3 separate regions of the Homo sapiens genome follow, and regions 2 and 3 are each linked to region 1. The links are contacts of gene promoters, found by promoter capture Hi-C in blood cells and fetal thymus (Javierre and others, 2016). All regions are on one chromosome and are shown on one strand. Each heading gives the region's core, a stretch centred on a gene start or on the middle of the fragment in contact. The rest is flanking DNA. Distances are from core to core; before and after follow the strand shown.

Region 1 (4,877 bases), core at 994-3,493:
CTCAAGAAAAGTAAACAGTTTTGCTTTGATTTGTGTAATTCAAGCTGGAAATAAGACACCCAAGGATGGATGCTCACCTCTAGAAGCAGGAAGACAAGCAACCATTATGCAGGGAGCAAAAGAAGAGGTAGTGGAAAAAAAGATTCTTGCAAACAGAACATCCAAAAATTAAGGTCTGTAACCAAGAAGAAGCTGTTGATTTCAGGGAATGGGAAGGAAACATTTTCAAACCACCATTTGGCAGACTCAATGCTGGGCTCTCATTTGCATTATCTCTTGAAATCCACAATGATCCTGCCACATAAAATCCCCATGTATAGACAAGGAAATTGAGTCAAGGAGGTGAGGTCAATATCTGAAGTTACAAGATATTTTTCTTGAAAAACATCAAATTTTAGTAAGCCTTCTACTGTCGCTTTTCAGCAAAGTTCTGTACTACATTCTGTAACATTACCTATCTGTAACTATCAATAAAAATTTCCCCTTTGTCTTCAATTAGAAATAGAAACGAAAATGCAAAAAGAGAAACAGTACAGAAAAAGTTCCTGGCAATAAGAAGTTAGAATCTAGGGTAAAAATCTAAAAGGAAAATGAGTAACATTTCCCTTTCAAGTGCAGAGCTTTCCTGGAGAATCCCAGGCAGTGTCTGAGCTACCAGAAAAGTAACCCACTTGTCCCCAATCACAGATGGAAGGCTAAAATGTTTGTCCACGGCCATCTAATGCAAAACCGCCTGTTTCTATCTGTAGATTCTGCACGAAATGCTTTTGGCTGAGACGTGCAAGCAAAACAAGTGCAGACCAACAGGTTATCTGCCAAGCGGTTAGGAGAATGAGTTACAAAACCTGACAAGCAACATCAGCTCTTCCGTACAATTCTATGAAGCACTTCCTGCCACGGGTCCCGCTATTTAAAACAAATTAGGCTGCTCGCTCCCCACAAATCCCATCTAGCACCTCTCGGTTCCTCAGTCTAGCTAATAAACCATGCACTGGATTCTTCCGAAAGAGACCCCCCGCCCCCGACCCCGCCACCTCCGCCACTTTGCATAACTGGCCAAATGCATTCTCCAAATTTGCAATCAAGGAGCTTAATTCACAATTGTGGATGGGGCGGGGGGAACCGCCAAGTGCAAGAACACGGAACGGTTGCAAGACGCAGTTCAGCAAGAACAACTCTTGCTCTAGGCATTGCTCCGTCGACCCGAGGTGGTGGGGTGGGAGAGTCTTACCGGCGTGGAAACAGTAAAAAGGCACTTTTCCTTACAACTCGCAAGACAACACACACTCTAGCTCCCCCGGCGCAGAGCACAACCGCCCCCCCGCCGCGCGCCTCCCTCGCAGCCAACCGCTCCCGCCTCTCCAGGGATCAGGCTCCCAGAAAGGGCCGCCCCGGTCGCCCCCGAGTCCCCGCCCTCTCGCTTTCCCACCAGCCTCATCCCTCCCTGAGTACCAAGGGCTGCCGTTGTCTGGTTTCAATAAAAACTGAAGCGGTCCCGAGCTAGCAGGCTTCCCTCCGAGGGGCGGACGGAAGGTCCGCAGGGTTAACGGAAGCGGAGAGAACAGGACAAAAAGGAAAGGCCGGAGAGTCCCCCCAGCGGCGCCCGGTGCCCGCAGACCCTCGCACAGGCTCTTCGAACTCACCCGGGTTTCGCCGACTCCAAAGAAAGCGCGCTCCCTCCGAGAGCGCTCCCCCGGCTCTCCCGCCGCGCGCTCCGGCCCGCAGGGCGGGAGGACCCAGGCGGACAGATCCATCCCTCCGCGTCTGGTGTGGGCACGGTGTCGTGCCCCGCGGCGCCTGTCAGCGCGCACAGGTGGGACCGCAGCACAGAGAACGCTCCCGAGCGCCCTGCCTCAGCCTCGGCGTGGGGCGAGCCGCCCGCGCCCGCACCCGCACCCCTTTCCCCGCGCCCGAGGAGCCGGGCTGTACCCCGGAGCCGGCGGAGCTGGAGGCCGCGGGCGGAGCGCGGGTTGCCCCGGCAGCTCTTTCTCGGCACCAGGTCCGAGACCTAACGGCAGTTCTCTCTGACCGCTTCCCGGCCGCGCGCTCGCGCGGGTGTCATGGCCGAGCGGCGGCCCCCGACGAAGTTTCCCGGAGCTGACGGCTTTACCTTTTAGCCCAAGGGGCGGCAGCAGCTTTGAGCAGCAGCAAGGCGGCGGCGGCGGAGGGAGCGCGGGTGGCAGCCGGCGCAGAGGCGGATGTAGAAGGAGACACCGGTGGCTAGGACCCGCGCGATGGGAAGAGGAAGGCGCCGGCTATCTACAATCAGAACGTGGGCTGACCGTGACGTCACAATGGCGCGGCCAGCCAATCGGGACCCGAAGGATGAATCAAGCGCTATGATGTCATGCGGCCCGGGAGCCAATCGCGGGACAATAGAACTTTCGTGATCGTAAATTCCAGAATCCGATGCGGTGGAGAGCCTAGGCCGGGGTTGGCCCCTCGGTTCCACGTGTCTCTGGGAAATTTTTTTCCCCTTTCTTCCTAATAAGCCTGCGTGGAACGCAGAGCCTGCGCAATAGCCCCGGTGAAGTTGTCGATGCCCTGAACTCTGGTTTTTTTACTGCCAGGCGTGGCAGGAGTCTGTGGCCGCATTTGGGTGGCAGAAGCCCACCCTCGTTACGGTCTCCTCTATGAGTTATGTCATGCTGAAGGGGATCCACTTCATCGTTAAAGCTGAAAGGGTTAAATGCCCACGGAGACCGCCGGAGTGAAGGTCTGCAGTTGAACAAGATAAAGGAACAAGAACAAAACGACTCAAAACTGTTGTAACCATAACTCCCTTGCAAAGGATTTACCGTGTATTTTTCTTAGGGATTCTGATTTTTCTTTGGAAGCCACTATCAACTCCATTTCTACTCTAGAAATTATTCTAAAGGATTGTTAAATGAGGAAAGATGGAATCAGTGTCTTTTCAGCTAAGCATATTTAAGCACTTAAGACAAAGGGGGTTCAGGGCATAAACGGAAGATCCTTGCTGTTTTTCACTGATATTTGGATAATTAAAGACCTTCATTAGCTTTGTATCCTACTGTTTCCCCATTCAAACCCCAGAGATTTAGCCTTTCTTCGTGTGCCCCTCTTGCTGTATTCTTACTCCTCTATGTGCATCCACCTAACAGTCGGCTATTTAATGTAGGCAAATTTATTCTTTTTTTTCTTTTTTTTTCTTTTTTGAGACAGAGTCTCGCTCTGTTGCCCAGGCTGGAGTGCAGTGGCGCGATCTCAGCTCACTGCAACCTCCACCTTCCGGGTTCAAGCGATTCTCCTGCCTCAGCCTCCCAAGTAGCTGGAATTACAGGCACGCGCCACCACACCCGACTAATTTTTGTATTTTTAGTAGAGATGAGGTTTCGCCATGTTGGCCAGGCTGGTCTCGAACTCCTGACCTCAGGTAATCCGCTCGCCTCAGCTTGCCAAAGTGCTGGGATTACAGACGTGAGTCACCGAGCCTGGCCGGCAAATTTATTCTTTTACATATTTACAATGTAATGCTTATCACGTGCCAGCTGTGTTCCAGGCAGTGGGCCATTGCAATAGGAATGCAAGTATACAAACCATGTACAAATTAAGTAAATTAAACATATACAAAGAATCGAGATTGTCAGTTGCCATTGAGCTCCACAAACACTGAATGACTTCAATTTGCTAGATACTATGTTAGGTATTCAAAATTTGAAACCTTCAAGGACTTCTTGGGCCTGGAAAATGATACAGTCAGGAAGCAACTACAATGCAGAGTGGTAAATGCTGCTATGGACATCAAGGGACATGAGAAAAGCATATGCTGGTGGCATAGACTATTTTTTTGAGATATCTCCTTCATTCTTCACGCTTCTGCCAGTAGTCCAAGGCCAGGGTTCATCTCTGTCATCCCATCTAAGTTTTGCCTTTCCAGGTTTTAAAAGTTTCTAATTTAACTTGAGATTCCAAAAGTCTTAAGTTTTACGCCGCACTTGTTTGAATTGTGCTTACCTATCAATAAAATGTTTTAAGCCCATTTGACCAAAATATCTTTAAGTTCAGGCTTATATAACTGTCAAGCTATGCATTAAATATCAAGTGATTTTTCTTATTGTATGATTAAGTATGACGTTTTGCTGTTTTTTCCCATCCCCCAAAGGCTGCGTTTTTACACAGTTCTTTGTTGATGTGTGTATCTTGGTTTCCATTATAGCATCACCACCCTGTATTGTAGTTGCTTTCTGATGGCATCATCTCACTCAATCCTTGGGGTATATGTACCCCACTTTAAAGACCACCGCTTTAGGTAGTAAACTCCGTTGAAGGGGAAAACATGTTGAATTTTGCTCCTTATTGATCTGTAGATCTTAGTACAATCCCTGGCATATAAGGGCTCAATAAATACGTGTTAGATGAGTGAATCTGTGAACAGTTACTCCCCCTCACCATCACCATCACTTTTCAGCTCCAGAGTTCCAATCCTCTGTCAGATAGTCACATCCCAGGATTATTAGATTATTAACTCCTCTCAAACATGTTGGTACGGTCATGTTCTCATTAGTTCTCCAGCCAGAGACTTAGAGTTCTCAGAACATATATATATATGCAAATGTATTATTTTACATATTACAATGTAATGTTTATCATGTGTCATATATCTCTGGGGGAAACTTCCTCCCACCCTAACAATTACTTCGTATTTCTGCATCATTGCACTCATGAGTAAAGCTGTAAGAAAAACAGTGGAGCCGAAACGACTCCCCAACTTAACTGTGGGATTTTTTCCAAATAAATCAAAAGAATACCTAGGATCCAATGCCAGGCTTACTAAATAACAGGGCTCAAGGAACCTGTTTTAGGTAGCATCAGAATCAGATTCCTGGCCAGCTGGGTTCTGGAAACTGTGCTGAAGC
Region 2 (4,877 bases), core at 1,248-3,747, 980 kb before region 1:
TGAGAAGAGCCTGGGCTAAAAAAATTAGTTATGGAGTGAGATTTCAAATGTACAGGTAATACCTACCCGTGTGTGTGCGCGCCTTAGGGATAACTCATACAATACACTGTATGTGTGATTTTTAGACCCACGTGTGTACTACTTGTTCCAGTACTCTGAGAAGCTGTTTCTGGGTAAAAACGAGGAAAATCCACAACAAATACACACACCAAACAATGTCCACAAACGCACTGCATTCCAGTCGAGTTAAACATGAGAGTATTGTACAGTTTGGGAGTATTTGCTTGTCAGTGAAGACTCCTGTTACTGAAGTTAATAGGAGTTGCCTGCATGGAAGGTAGACTGCCCTTGACTGCCCTGTTAAGGTTATCCACAACGTGTACCCAGCCCTGAGCTGCTGCACCCTTGACCAGGTCAACTGGAAGGGAGCCAGACTGCTTAGGACCTCAGTGGATGAGTATCCAAGTGTGTATCTAAAAACAAAGGACCAAGGCATGGCTTTGTTTTTGTTTTTGTTTTTTATTTCTGCTGTTTGTCCTTGGGTGCGTGTCCTTCAATTATTAGTTAAATGTTGACTATCTTACATTAACCCATCTTGTATTGTTAATTATGTATGGTAATTATTTCAGTTATTTGGCGTAACAACCAATTCTGGAAGACCCAGAGTAGAGGAATCTTATTAAGTGGATATATCCATTGAAAGATATGTTTTTTTTTTTTTTTTTTTTGCGGGTGTGTGTATGCACCAGATTTCCTTCTGGTGCATATAGGTCCATCTTCTGACACACACTGAGATTTGAGCTTCATTGGATAAACAAGGATTATTTTGGCAACTAGCATTTGTTGGGTCTGTTTTTAATTCATGAAAAGGAAATCTTTAATAATTATGCAAGTTAACAGGATAGAAAGCGATTTATTCATTTTACAAGAATCATTTCAGGATAAGCATATTTCCATTAAGGGTGTGTGTATACCTTATTGAGTGGTCAGGACCTTGCATCAAAATCTGCACTATCATTCCTGCAGCAGTGTACTTATTCACTTGGACGTAACACTTGCTGATGCTTCCAATTCTTTATCCAAATGTTAAAATAAATATGCCAGTATTTATACATTCAAATCAGTATTTCTCCCCTTCAAAAGCCTGCTCTTGGCAAGCTGTGTACTAATTCTAGTGATGCTGTCACTACTGAGAATAATTTTGGAGCTCCTGCTTTGGAGTTGCCTTCCGAGTTTGCAACACATTTCCTGATTGCCTCAGTGGTGGCAAACCTTCCTCAGCTGGGAAACAGCCAGGCACTGTGCGGGGCCAACTTGGGCTTCCGAGGTGGGGAATCGAGGTTGTCAATAAGTATGCTCATTAAAGTAATGAAAATTCTCTTGAAAGACTGGCAGTTCTAAAAGGGGCATTTAGTAATGGCATGGAGTATGTATTTAGGATTGGAAGGAATTACAGTTGGTCCCTGAATAACACCGGGGTTAGGGGCTCCCATCATCTCCACAGTGGAAATTTTGAGTACAACATTTAACTCCTCAAAAACTTAACTACTTTGAAGCACAACCTTCATTTTGGTGTTTATGCTCTGGTATGTATGTAAAGTAATTGGTCCTGTCACTTTATTGTTATAGCTTATGGCTTATTGGGCTAGAAAAAGTAAGCCTTTCTTTGCCCCTCCTGATACTTGTTACTAGGCAGTCTCTGTCATTGTGGATTTTTACAGAAAGCAAAACAAAAATACAAAAGACTTGTTGTCTCACCAAAAAAAAAAAGGTACCCAGAAAGCCATTTGCCCCAGCTGTAGGTAATGCCTGGTGCTTGATTTTTGATGTGAAAGGATCCACAGAAGTAAAGGGAAGAGAATGATTTCTGAACATTCATTTCAACTTTGGGATTTCATGGCACACAGTAAAAAATGTACTGAACATATCCCTTTTTAAAATTCGCATTTTTTTTTTCAGGTTGTGTTGCATAAAGCTTCATACAGCCACAGCTTGAATCTTGATCTAGCTGTGGTTTGGGGCAAGTTGTTTCATCTCTTTTGGCCTCAGTTTTCTTAAAATGAAGATATTAATGAGTATGTACCTCATGGGGCTGTGATGAAGATGAAATAACATTGATGCGTGTAGAACACTTGAGTTCGGTGCCGGACACATCATGAGTGCTCAACAGAGTCTACTTATTCTTGTTAGGAATATTATTTATTGATAGTCTTATGTTAAAATTCCTTTGAAGCCATGTGGAAATTTATCATTTCCCAGGTAATGATATTCCCTTCAGTTAGGTTTTGCAACTAACTACAAATAGAACATTTTGGTTTTTGCCCTCCTGGTCTTTTAAGAGTTTTTAAAGGGTAACCTGAAAAGCAACGACAATTAGTTATTTTTTATTTATTCAGAAACGAGGAAATACAGACTCCAAATAAGTGGAGTCAGTGCTCCCAGTTACTTTCTTTTGAATTCAGATTTTTTTTTTAAATGAGCATTCCTGTTATGATTGTATATTATGTATAACAGTTTGGTGTGGTAAGGCAAATCTGAAAGAAAAAAGTTTAAAAGCCTCTTCTCTAATTTTTTTCCCTTCATCCAATGAAAATATTATTCTAACGAAACAGCTACAGTTCTCTTGGCACGTATTGAAAGAGACGATTCTGGTAAACATTCCCTTCATTCCAAATGTGAGTTTTGCTCTGCTGTGTTTTTTAAACAATAGGGAAGAATAGCCTGGCACTGAAATCTCAGCTCTTCTGTAAATGTCAACACTAGTTTTTTTTCAAGTTTATAAATTTTATTTTATATATATATGTACATATATTAGAAAGATGGGAAAGTTTCATCTTAATTTTAATCAGATGATTAGGGGCTGCTATGAAATAGTTAATGTTTCATGAAATGTTGACCATTTAGTGAGAATTCTCTGTTCTAGGCAAGCAAGTGCTGGAGATGGAGAGGCTTGAGACACAGGCTTTGCCCTTCAGAAGTTCATTCACATCATGTGCTCTCTTACAATGATGCAGGAACAAAAGCTTCTTCTCCTAATGGCCTGTGGAGCTAAGAATTCATATGGATTTTACTACATGATATTTTCCTTCAATTTCTCAAAGAAGGGTAAATAGGTGGATCTCTCAATAGTGTTCATATTTTTGAGGTGGATTAACTCTTTCAAAATTAGATCCCAATATGTACTCAGAGGCCATAAAAGGAGAAAATAGCTATAATTAGTGAATTACAAAGTATATCTGCAGGATGGGGTGGTATTATTGCTATACGAAACTTTCCTGGAATGTTGTGTTTGGTTTTTGCTCTGTCTTCTGAGTAGCGGTTTATGTACTTGTAAAGGACCAGGAAACAATATACATTGTGGCTTAGACTGGAGCCATGATTCTTTTTTTTTTGAGATGAAGTCTCCCTCTGTCACCCAGGCTGGAGTGCAATGGCGCAATCTCGGCTCACTGCAACCTCCATCTCCTGGGTTCAAGCAATTATCCTGCCTCAGCCTCCTGAGTAGCTGGGATTGCAGGCGCGCACCACCACACCCAGCTAATTTTTGTATTTTTGTAATTTTTGACCACCATGTTGGTCAGGCTGGTCTCGAACTCCTGACCTCGTGATCTGCCCATCTTGGCCTCCCAAAGTGCTGGGATTACAGGCGTAAACCACTGTGCCCAGCCTGGAGCTGTGATTCTTAATGGGGAGAAGTGGGTGGTGAATTTGCCCCTTTCCCCCAGAGGATGAAATTTGGTGGTGTCTGGAGACATTTTTGATTGTCATACCTGGAGGGGGAGGGATGTTACTGGCATCTAATGAGTGGAGTCCAGAGATGCTGCTAACCATCCTAAAATGCACAGGACAGCCCCGCACAACAAACAGTTATCTGGTTCAAAACATCAGTAGTGCTGAGAAGCCCTTGGCTAGAGCGTGGGATTTGGAGTAAAAATAAACCTGCATTAGCACCCTGACACCACCATTTCTTAACTGTGCCACCCTGGGTGTGTTACTTAATCTGAGTATCCATAGGATGCATATCTGAAGAGATGTGAGTTAGAGTGTGTATGAAATGCTTAACACACAGAAGGATCGCAATAAGTGTCAACTCTTAGTATCATGACTGGTAGATCTAGGTCAAAATCCAAAGACTGTGCTTTAAACAGACACAGCTTTTGTTTCTTAACCTATTATGTACAGAAAGAATTCAGGTTTCTTGTTTTCATTTGTGTGCCCAAGGATAGGGCAGGGGCACAGATGTAGGGCCTCCAGCGTCTCTGGTACCTTCTGCATTTTGTCCTAGGTTCTGCCAGACAGCTAAGTGTACTCTGCAGATCAACCACGCAAACAGGACAGTCCCCCAGACTTGTGTAGAGGAAAGATGAGGATGGAGGAGCTTTCTGTTCCATGTGGGCTACACTTGGAAGGGGGAGATAGCCAGGCCAGGAAGCTCCTTCTGATTGAACTTATTATCTCCCAGGCTTCTGAAGGCTCTTCTCAGACCCTTGTCTAGACATGACCAGAGAGTTTCCTTTGCTGTGTGAGCAGGTGAGGAGGTCTGGCCATTTCCCTCCCCTTTGCTTTTCTTTAGCCAGGTATGGTGATTCATGCCTGTAATCCCAGCACTTTGGGAAGCTGAGATGGGAAGATCGCTTGAGCCCCAGGAGTTCAAGACCAGCCTGGGCAACATGGCAAGACCCCATCTCTACAAAATATACAAAAAATAGCCAGGTGTGGTGGCACGTGCCTGTAGTCCCAACTACTTGGGACGTGCACACACACACACACGAGCCACATGAGTGAGTAATCAACTCAGTAACAAGCAGATCTTCAGCAAACGGGCAAGTGGAGCAAATTCTGGGCACAGAGAATGTTTAGCAGATAAGGATGTAAAT
Region 3 (4,877 bases), core at 1,298-3,797, 960 kb before region 1:
GGTAGTCCCAGCTACTTGAGAGGCTGAAGTGGGAGGATCACCTGAGCCTGGAAAGGTTGAGGCTACAGTGAGCCATGATCACACCACTGCTCTCCAGTCTAGGTGACAGAGTGAGACCCTGTCTCAAAACAAAAAAGAAACTTTCAACAGAGGAAACAGACAACCTACAGAATGGGAGAAAATATTCATACATTATGCAGGGGTCTAATATCCAGCATCTATAAGGAACTTTAAATCACCAAGCAAAAAACAACTCAATTAAAAAGTGGGCAAAGGAAATGAGCAGACACTTCTCAAAAGAAGACAGACAAGTGGCCAAAAACATATGAAAAAATGCTCAACATCACTAATCATTAGAGAAATGCAAATCAAAACTACAACCAGATACTATCTCACACCAGTCAGAATGGCTATTATTTAAATTAAAAAAAAATAACAGGTGTTGGTGAGGCTGCAGAGGTTAGGGAACGTTTATACAGTGTTGGTGAGAATGTAAATTAATTTCAGCCACTGAAGAAAGCAGTTTGGAGATTTCTCAGAGAACCAAACACAACTACCATTTGACCTAGCAACCACATTACTGGGTATGTACTCAAAGGAAAACAAATTGTTCTACCAAAAAGACACATGTACTCATATGTTCATCACAGCACTATTCAAAAATAGCAAAGATCAACCTAGGAATGAACCTCAGTGCCCATCAACAGTGAATTGAATAAAGAAATTGTGGTATGTACACATAATGGAATACTGTGGAGCTGTAAAACAGAATTTGCAGCAACATTATCTTAAGTGAATTAATGCAGAAACAGAAAACCAAATACCACATGTTTTTACTTATAAGTAAGAGCTAAACATTGGGTATACATGGACATAGAGAAGGGAAAAATAGACACAGGACTACAAGAAGGGAGAAGGAGGGACCGGGGCAAGGTTGAAAAACTACCTGTTGGGTACTATGCTCACTACCTGGATGATGGACTCAGTCATACCGCAAACCTCAGCATCATGCAATATACTCTTGTAACAAACCTGCACATATACCTCCTGAATAGAAAAGAAAAGTTGAAAAATTTTTAAAATGAAGTAATTCTGAGTGATAAACAATCACAACCTTTGTAGATACTACAGGTTAGGCAGGTAGGTAATTGTAATATCATGGAGATGAAAGCTGTAGCTTTGTGATAGTTTACAATTACTGATCTGAACTGAGTAGATTGACTTTTCAAATGAAGCTCTTCTATGGAATAACTAATGATTTTTTTTTTTGAGACGGAGTCTCACTCTGTCACCCAGGCTGCAGTGCAGTGGCACAATCTTGGCTCACTTCTCTGCAACTGATTATTAATTACTACTTCTAATTACAGAAAAGGCCACACTGGGAAGTGGAGCAGGGTCTTCAGGGGTGCCCTTAGGAAAGAGCCCTGATGGGATGTCTTGGGAGAGAAGGCTCTGGATAGTGCTCCTGGGTCACTACAGTGAGCCAGGATTCCTAGTCCATCAGCAGCTCAGAGATGGACAAGCACTATCTTCTCATCTAATACTTCCTTTTCATTCACAGCTGATAGATGTTCTTTCACAAAGACGCAGTCAGTTGGCTGGACTCTTGGGACACGGGTCAGAATTATTGGGGTCTGCCCATACCTTATTGTTGATTTGGTTTAGGGCTTTGAATAGGTCACTTAAATTCAGTGTACCTCAGTTATTCTCACAATCAAGTAACACAAGCTAAAATCTTTGAAAAAATATTTTGAATAACTTCCTTATGCAACCCAATGAATTTCACAATTTAATATAAAGGAAGACACATGTATAGCCAGTTATAGCATAATGCTAAGAGGATGCTATAAACTGAAGTGTCTCCCCAAATTAATATGTTGAAATCCTAACCCCTAATGTAAGGATATTAGGGGGTGGGGCCGTTAGGAGGTGATCACCTAGATCAGGGATCCCCCAACCCCCAGTACCTGTCTGTGGCCTGTTAGGAACTGAGCTGCACAGCAGGAGGTGATCAGTGGGCGAGTAAGCAAAGCTTCATCAGTATTTACAGCCGCTCTGCTTTGCTGGCTTTACTGCCTGAGTTCCTGTCAGATCAGCAGCAGCATTAGATTTTCATAGGCGTGCCAATCCTATTGTGAACTGCACATGCAAAGGATCTAGGTTGTACTCTCCTTATGAAAATCTAATGCCTGATGATCTGTTACTGTCTGCCATCACCCCAGATGGGACCGTCTAGTTGCAGTAAAACAAGCTGAGGGCTCCCAGTGATTCTACATTATGGTGAGTTGTATAATTATTTCCTTATATATTATAATGTAAAAATAATAGAAATAGGCTGGATCCGGTAGCTCATGCCTGTAATCCCAGCGCCTTGGGAAGCCAAGGTGGGCGGGTCACTTGAGGTCAGGAGTTTGAGACCAGCCTGGCCAACATGGCGAAACCCCATCTCTACTAAAAATACAAAAATCAGCTAGGTGTGGTGGTGCATGCCTGTAATCCCAGCTACTTGGGTGGCTGAGGCACAAGAATGGCTTGAGCCTGGGAGGTGGAGGTTGCAGTGAGCTGAGTTGGCATCACTGCACTCCAGCCTGGGCAACAGAGCAAGACCCTGTGTCAGGAAAAAAAAAAAAAAGCAATAAATGTAATGGGTTTGAATCATCATGAAACCATACTCCTCAACCCCCAGCCCCCATACGTGGAAAAATTGTCTTCCATGAAATTGGTCCCTGGTGCTGAAAAGGTTGGGGACCACTGACCTAGATGAATGCCTAGATGAATGGTATTACTGCCTTTATAAAAGAAACTCAGGAGAGCTCCCTTGCCTCTTCTGCCATGTGAGGACATAACAAGAAGACAGTCATGTTTGAACCAGAAGTGGGCCCTCACTGGACACCAAATCTGCTGGTGCCTTCATCTTGGACTTTTGCAGCCTCTAGAAACTGTGAAAAATAGATTTCTGTTGTTTATAAGCCACCTAGTCTTTGATATTTCCTTACAGCACCCTGAATGGACAAAGACAGAGGGCTTAATAAGACATGATGAGTTCTACTTCAGGCTGTCGCTAAGCTTCACAGGGGAGGGGTTATATCTGAGCCTGAATTTGAGAGAGAAGTGGGTTTTGCCAGGCACAGCAGGCTACAATAACATTGGCGATGTCAAGTGTGTGGCTTGTTCAGGCAATCAGGACAGTCTGTTCTGCCTTTTGTATGCAACAAGAATAAAAACGAGTTCTAACAGTGCTCCAGTGTTATTTTACATTATGTTTCTCTGCCTGGCCCCTCCTTTTCCTAAGTCTTTGCTTAGGCATTCTTGGTCATAAAAATGACAAATGGTAGGAGATGATAGACCAAAAACAAGCTGATGGTTAGAAATTCAGCCAGCAATTTAAATATTGGTGCGGATACCTAGCAAGTGGATGAACCACACAAATAAATAAGATCCAACTCAAATGGTGTTTTCTTTTGAAAACCCACATTTTCGTTTTCTTAGATCTCACTGGTTTTTACCTTTAGAAGCAGGCAAAGGATAGTCATTCACTTTGTTTTTGAACAATGATCTATTGACACATTCTGGGGACATCTTTCCTCTGACTGTTTGCTGATAGAAATAAAGCATAGGTAAGCCAGTGTTCCTGTCTCCAGAGGCTTGCAATTCAATAAGCAGAAGAGAGAAGGCTCTCTACACACACAGTAGTGAAGTAATGGGCAAGCCTGATGTTCTCCTTACCAAAATATGTGGAATAGATAGATAAGGGTTGGGGGCGGGGGAGGAATCAAGATGGCCTGGAGAAGGCTTTGTGGTGATTTGGAATTGAACTAAGGCCTTGGAGATATCTAAGGAGAAATGAAGAATAAAGTGACTTGCTTGACTCTTTATAGCAAATAAAATTGCTGGGTCTTAGAACCACCAGGAGAGTGTACTGTTGTCACTGCAGAAGAGTTAATGTTTAATTGCTAGGGAACACAGCTTTCTTTATATGGTGCTCCAAACTCTAGCTCGATTTGTTATCTGATTTTCTGCTGTGGAAAGGGCATTTCCAAGATTGATTTCCTGCCAGTGGAAATGAGCAGCTCTCTTCACGTTCACCCGGGTTGGCCCGGGTCCCAGCTGGTTTGCAGATCAGTGATGAAGCTTCCTGCCGGTGAGAAGCTAGATCTAGTTGAGAGGTTGCCTGACTGAAGCCAAACCACACCTAACGAAGCCGATAGTTACACTCATGTAGAAAGTCCAGGGAGACACCTGTCCCTAGGCTTTAATTAGTGGGAGTTTCAGACAGCAAAGTTTACCTTTACTCAAACAAGAAGCCTCAGAAGAACATGATCTTCACACCTGAACTGTTGATTGCCTGGAGACTGCTCAGTGTGTTCTCCCAGTAAATTGTTCCCAGCTCCTCTGACTTCTCCCACTCGACAGATTAAACACAGATACTATTTATTCCATGTGGCAGATGCATTCTCTGTCTGTAATGATGCATTTTGAAACCAGTACTTTCTCAAGTGAGATTAGCTGAGATGTGGAAAGTATAGGAAGTGACAGAACAGACAGAAATTCTAGCTAGAGGGTTCTAGTTAGATAAAGAGAAAAAGGCACTCAGAGGAAATTTGCTCTGCTCATCTTTCCCAGGGCACAGCAACAAATTAAGGCTGTCTTTTCTTTCTCCTCTTAGGAATATTATAGGGCACCACAGAGGAAAAGATTCATAAGTGGAGAGCTCACTGAGCCCAGAAGGACACATCTTGCTGCCAGATCTGTGGCAAAAAGGTGTACCTTACTTTTTTTTTATAGGCACGGTTCAGCCGTACCACAAACCCACATGGTCAGGAAGTGACTCACGTATTAATGCCGTTTGAGTTTGTGTGCTGTGGGGAAGGTCTTTT

Evidence for each region. Contacts are between HindIII fragments. The CHiCAGO score rates a contact against its expected background, and 5 or more counts as called.
Region 2: a contact is called between a fragment that was not itself captured here and the fragment with the promoter of ELOVL5 in region 1, in 1 of 17 cell types (activated CD4 T cells). The highest score is 5.6, in activated CD4 T cells.
Region 3: a fragment that was not itself captured here is called in contact with the fragment with the promoter of ELOVL5 in region 1 in 1 of 17 cell types (non-activated CD4 T cells); the score reaches 5.1 in non-activated CD4 T cells.

The regions. Positions count from the first base shown.
Region 1 is chr6:53,346,707-53,351,583 of GRCh38, forward strand. ELOVL5 (ELOVL fatty acid elongase 5) reads right to left here and starts at 2,244. Exons shown (of 8, transcript NM_021814.5): 1 at 2,111-2,244. RefSeq lists a silencer at 1,645-2,084. The HindIII fragment of the contact is 17,438 bases long and covers 1-4,877 here.
Region 2 is chr6:52,363,376-52,368,252 of GRCh38, forward strand. All of the region lies in intron 1 of PAQR8 (progestin and adipoQ receptor family member 8), which reads left to right. Among named protein-coding and RNA genes, the nearest start is that of PAQR8, 3.7 kb to the left of the region's middle. The HindIII fragment of the contact is 1,048 bases long and covers 1,974-3,021 here.
Region 3 is chr6:52,385,761-52,390,637 of GRCh38, forward strand. The region is part of intron 1 of PAQR8 (progestin and adipoQ receptor family member 8); the gene reads left to right. Among named protein-coding and RNA genes, the nearest start is that of PAQR8, 26 kb to the left of the region's middle. RefSeq lists enhancers at 425-534, 3,170-4,877, 4,296-4,505. The HindIII fragment of the contact is 1,034 bases long and covers 2,031-3,064 here.